Linked DNA regions of Homo sapiens: region 2 is linked to region 1. The links are contacts of gene promoters, found by promoter capture Hi-C in human tissues and cell types (Jung and others, 2019). All regions are on one chromosome and are shown on one strand. Each heading gives the region's core, a stretch centred on a gene start or on the middle of the fragment in contact. The rest is flanking DNA. Distances are from core to core; before and after follow the strand shown. Region 1 holds the start of PHF21B (PHD finger protein 21B). Region 2 overlaps PRR5-ARHGAP8 (PRR5-ARHGAP8 readthrough).

The links. The method cuts DNA at HindIII sites, captures the fragments that hold promoters and counts their contacts. A contact is called where the count stands out against the background at its distance.
Region 2: a fragment that was not itself captured here is called in contact with the fragment with the promoter of PHF21B in region 1 in 1 of the 25 tissues and cell types used here (stomach).

What each region holds. Positions count from the first base shown.
Region 1 is chr22:45,008,699-45,011,417 of GRCh38, reverse strand. PHF21B (PHD finger protein 21B) reads left to right here and starts at 1,413. Exons shown (of 13, transcript NM_138415.5): 1 at 1,413-1,922. The coding sequence starts at 1,869. RefSeq lists an enhancer at 2,433-2,719. The HindIII fragment of the contact is 18,572 bases long and covers 1-2,719 here.
Region 2 is chr22:44,846,333-44,849,032 of GRCh38, reverse strand. It overlaps PRR5-ARHGAP8 (PRR5-ARHGAP8 readthrough), which reads right to left. Exons shown (of 15, transcript NM_181334.6): 12 at 983-1,060; 13 at 1-101. ARHGAP8 (Rho GTPase activating protein 8) reads right to left here. Exons shown (of 12, transcript NM_181335.3): 9 at 983-1,060; 10 at 1-101. Among named protein-coding and RNA genes, the nearest start is that of ARHGAP8, 95 kb to the right of the region's middle. The HindIII fragment of the contact is 5,670 bases long and covers 1-2,700 here.

The DNA of each region.
Region 1 (2,719 bases), core at 164-2,663:
TAGCTGGGATTACAGGCTTGCGCCACCATGCCTAATTTTTTGTATTTTTAGTCGAGACCATGTTGGGCAGGCTGGTCTCGAACTCCTGACCTCGTGATCTGCCCACTTCGGCCTCCCAAAGTACTGGGATTACAGGTGTGAGCCACCGCCCCCGGCCGGCCTCCTATGGAGTCTTAAAGCGCTGTTTGCAAGTTTCTGTTAACTAATTTGGGTTAAAGTAAGGGTCATCTACATGCCCCTCTGCTTTTTGCATAGTTACTCATATCCTAAGTCTCACTCTGTCGTGCTCTGAAGGCGAGGTGCTGGGTTGTGGGATGAGGGGCCATCTGTGTTTGGGGGTCCCAAACACGTAATTTATTACAAATTCCCTAACAGAGAGCAGAACAACACTGGGGTCCTCACTTGAAAAAAAAAAAAAAAAGAAAAGAAAGAAAAGGGGGAATTCCAATAACTTCTGCCAACAAAAGCAATGTGTGACCTGTTGGCATATGTTGAAAGGGACATTTGCTGATGGTGCTTGCTTGGGTATTTTTTGTGCTGCCGGAGAGGAATCTGAAGTTAAAACGACTTAACAGCTTAAACGTTTACTTTGACATATGATTGCACCCTTTCTCCCCAGCGTGTTTCAAACGTGCCAGTTTGCTGCCAACAGGGCACCCGGCACTCCGACCTGAATGAAGATGGCAGCCCCGAGGTGGTGACAGTGACTCTGGGACATTAACCTCCTGGCTGCGCGGCTGGGGGTTCTGAAACGCGACCTCCGCAGCTGTAATTATAATTGTTTTAGGTCGCATTGACCGGGCCTGTTTACGACTCTTAACAAGAGTCTTAAAATGTCCAGTGACATCTGTTGAGAGTTTAATCGTGTAAAAAAAAATCATTAAAGGAAGAGCCAAGAGATCAATTTTCTTGCTGTTTAAACAACACGGAGGCCATCAGGCGGCGGGGGAATGTGGCGACGCGACTAATTTAATCCCCCAAGTCGCGGCGCTGGTATGGACAGGAGGGGACGGAAGAATTTAAATAAAATATCAGAGGGAGGCGGAGGAGGGGGGAAAGGAGGGAGCCGAGGACCAGGGTGAGGAGAAATGGAAACACGGACTCGCAGCCTCCCAGCGGAAAGTGTCCTGATCCCGGCGTTACACGGCGCAGGGGGTGGGGGCGCCGCGTTCCCCGGGTTGGCCCGGGGACGGAGAGGATGACTCCGCAGTCGTCCTCTCCGAGCGCCCGGCCCGAGCAGTCCCCGGAGCCGGCGACCGTGCGTCCCCGTCCACCGCCACTTTTGTTCTCCGCTCGGGGTGCCGGGCCGCGGCGGGGCGGCAGTGCGCAGGCGCGGGCGGGGCGGGGGCGGGGCGCGGCGGGCTGAGGGTCCCGGCACCGCCCCCCGCCGCCCCGGCCCGCTCCATCCGGGCACTGCCGAATTAGCATCGTGCCGAGGCACAACTTTGCCGAGGCCCAACGAGATCCAGGCGCGCGCGCCGGAGGAAATATAGTCCCTGCCCGCGGGAGGCTCGCGCGGGAGGAGGCGGCGGCGGCGGCGGCTGGGCGGGCGCGCGCGGGGCTGCGCGGGGCTCCCGGCGCCGGGGGGGCCATGCTCCGGGCCGCGCCGGCAGCCCGGGGACCCGGCGCAACTTGCCGGGCAGCCTGAGGAGTTGGGGCAGCCGAGGGCTCGGCGCCGCGGCGCCCGGAAGCCTGTCTTCCCCTTCGCCAGCCCCCTTCCCTTTCGGCCGTGGGGGAGGGGGCTCGTGTCCCCCCCAACCCAGCCCGGAGGCCGCGTCCGCCCGCGCCCGCTCTGGCCCCCGCGGAGCCGCGCAACTTCCCGGGAGCCCGGGCCAAAGTGAGCGCAAAGTGCTGCCCAAGTTGCCGGGATGGAGCTGCAGAGCCGGCCCGAGGCGCTCGCCGTGGAACTCGCGCGCCACCAGGTAGGTGGCCGGGGGCCGGGCCCGGGGCCGGGGAGTGTGTTGCGGGGTGAGGGGGTCGGGGGACCCGAGCCCAGCATCCTCTCTTCCGGGTCTCTGGGTCTTCCAGGCTGGAGCCTGCCCGGGGGCGGGGGGCGAGGGAGTGAGCACACGCGCGGACCCCCTTCTGGGCTCCCCTCCGCCTGCCCCTGGCGCTGTCCTGCACAGTTTGCGGGATCGAGGACGCGTGGGACCCGAGCCTGGAGTCTTCTCTTAAGCGATGTAGGGTCTGCATGACTGGGAGGGTGCCTGGAGGGGGCCCCTTCGTGAGCCGGTCCCGGGGAGGGGAGTGCGAATAGGCCCCCTTCCGGCCTCCCCTCGGGCCCCCGCGCCCCGGGCGAACCTGCCCGGTGTGCAGAAGTAGTTTTGGCGATCGCTGCTGGCGAGCGGCGGCGTGGCGGCCGGAGCCTGAGCGGGGCTCGGCGTGCGCGTGTGTGTGTTGGGGAGATTAGGACGCGACTTGAATATTTATGAGCTTTGCTCGACACGGACTCGCCGTGTTTACTTGGCTCTTTGTTCCTCCCCCCTCCCCCGGCACACACTCACACTCACACTCACTCGCACACGCACCCCGGCCTGCAAACTTGCACGGCTCGGGGCGCGCCGCCGGGTGGCCTCGGCCCCCGCCCCGCCCCGCGAGCTGCCCCGATGAGGCGGCAGCCACAGGTAAGCGGCCCCGCGCGGCACTGCCCGGCCGCCGCGCGTGCAGGACGCGGCCCGGGAAACTTGGGGTGCGCTGCGGCCGGCCCCGCCCGTGGGGC
Region 2 (2,700 bases), core at 37-2,536, 160 kb after region 1:
CTGGAAGGTCAGAAGCGGCTGGGGCAGCTCTCGCAGGAAGGTCTTCAGGATCACGGCAGGGATGTGAATGTCCCCGTAGTCGTCAAAGTTCACGGGCTTCCCTGCACACACAACACAGCACTGCTGAGGTCTGCACCCCGGCCTGGGCACTGCCGCTGCAGAACGAGCTCTGAGACACAGGGCGTGAGATGTCCGGATGGGACGCACCTGATGCTGGAGCCATGTGTCCTAGGGATGATGCTGTCCCCACCTAGAAATGGGTGTGCTCTGGCCCCATCAGCCCCTACACTACCCTAACTGCCTCCTCCCGGGCTCCCAGTGGGGACTGGGGTGGGCTGCTGGCTTCTCTGTGGCATGCTGTTGCTCCCGGCTACAATGCCAGCTCTCTGAGGCCAGGTCTGTGGCAGAGATGACACCGCAGGCCCTGGGCCTGAGACAGGCAGGCCTGAGCTGGGCCCCGTGCAGACCTGATGCTCCATGATTGTGTAATGCACAACTGATGACGGGAGCGAGTGGGAGCGAGGGCAAGTCTTGTCAGCAAGACAGCGCCTTCATTAGCGTCAGTGCAATGCATCCTCAGCTCAGAGGCCACTGCCCCTGCCTGCGGGTTACACATGGCAGTTAAGGAAGCCGTGCTGAGCCAATTCGGGGGAGCTGCCAGATAAAAAAAACCAGCTTCCCTGCACTGCAGGGTGTCTCCTGAAAGCACGTGCCACGTGGTGTGGATGGAGAGACCCTAAAGGCAAAATGGCATCATGCGGCCACCATGTCCCAGTGGGGTTGGGGGTCTGGACAAAAGGTCCCCACTCTGGACTACCAGTGGGCCCCTCGATGCCTCCTGGGAAGCTGCCCCCACCCTGAGTGTTTTCTGGGAGTTGGGTGGGTTGCGGGGGCGGTGCTTCCCTGCCTCCGCTCTGAGGCCCCGGAGCGCTGTGCTCGCTGACCAGGCAGCTCGGGGCTCAGGACTGCGGGACACCCTCACCTTGGTTGTAGAGCCTCTGGATCTCGCGGACGGTCTGCACGCTGGCGGATCTCCGGAACAGGCCCTCGGTGCGCAGGCCTGCAGGAGAGGAGCTTCCAGGCATCTCACAGGTCCCAGCCCAAAGGGCTTCCAGGACATTATATGACACTCCCCTGCCCACGGCATCACCCACCTGTGGCTGGCCTCCACACATTTATTTGTTCCTCAAATCCTTTCCATATTCCCCAACCCACCCGATTTCCCACCTCTGTGGTCCATGGAAAGGGAAAGCGGAAATAGACTCTAATCTCAGACAGACCTAGGCTCTAGTCCAGCTCTGCCTACCAGCTGTGTGACCTCAGAGAAAGCTCTCGGCCTCTCTGAGCCTATCTGCCTTGTTTATCTACAGAATAAGGCCATGAGCTCCTGTCTCCAAGGGCTGCAGAGAGGACTGGACACGGTGATGCCCAGCAAGTGCCTGGCACCTGGGAGACGTCCAGACACGTGACTTCCCACAAGAGCTAGGGCTGAGCTGTCCAGCACAGCAGCCAGTAGCTGCACATGGGGATTTAACTTTAATTAAAATTAAATAAAATTAGAAATCTAGTCACTCAATTGCATGAGCCTCATATGAACTGCCCTATTGAGCTACTGCCACAGGGGCTGGTGGCTGCTGTTTAGACAGTGAAGATATAGATGATGTCCAAGTTCAGTTGGGCAATTCTGCTAAAGAGGTGATTGTAATCAAAGAAGAAAACTTGTCTCCATTGTCAGTTTATAAAGAGCATTTTCAGTGCTTGTAATTGGCTCATGAAAGCAGCTGTGGGGTAGAGGGAAGGGCTCCCTCTGGCCAGGCCCCTGCTGGCTTCAGAGCCAGAAAGAGAAACAGGCCTGAGCCTGCCCTTGGGGGGCCTGCGGTGCATGATGGGGGTGCCCCGGAACACCAGGACCTAGGACTGTGGCGCAGGCATCTGGAGGTGCAAGTCTTCTTGGGACTTGCAAGGCCTGACCTCCCCTTCTCCTCCCAACTTCCTCGAAGCCCCGCACGCTCCCGCACTCCCACAGCCACGAGCCCCTTCACCTGCTCTCCTCTCTGGGGCCTTTCTGTCACACGGCATGGCCAGCTTCTCCCCGTCCTCAGAGCTCAGCTCCACTGCCCCTCCCTCAGGGAAGCCCCCCAACAAGGTCAACCCCCCTAACAGGGACCCCGGTCTGGCAGGGCCTTCTCCCTGATGGAAGTCAGCATCTGGGCAGCTCTCGGTGGAATAGCTGCTGCTTCCCCATCCCGTGTGCTCACTTTGATATCCCCAGAGTCTGGCACGAGGGAGGCACGTAGCGAATGCCTCCCAAGTGAATGAGTGAATGATGGGGAGGCGTGAAGAAGGCAGTTCTGCCTGGGAGAGGGGCAGAATTGGAGAGGGCTTCCGGAAAGCAGGACCTAACCGGTAGAGGGCAAGGAGGGGCAGTCCAGGCCGGGGACAGGCAGGCCTCTTGGGGTCCCAGTGTGGGGTGCCCCCCGTACCTGCTCACCTGCCAGCTGAGCATCGTGACTGAGGGAAATGCTGGGGCCGCAGGGTCTGGGGTTTGAGGGAGATGGTCTCCCAGGCCCCCGCCCAGCACATCTGCTCACTGATGCCACCCCCATGTGCATGGACTCTCGTGCCAAAGCACATTTCCTGGGCACCCTGGCCTACAAGTGAGGAGGGGCTCTCCAGGCCCCGCCTGTCTAAAGCAGGTTT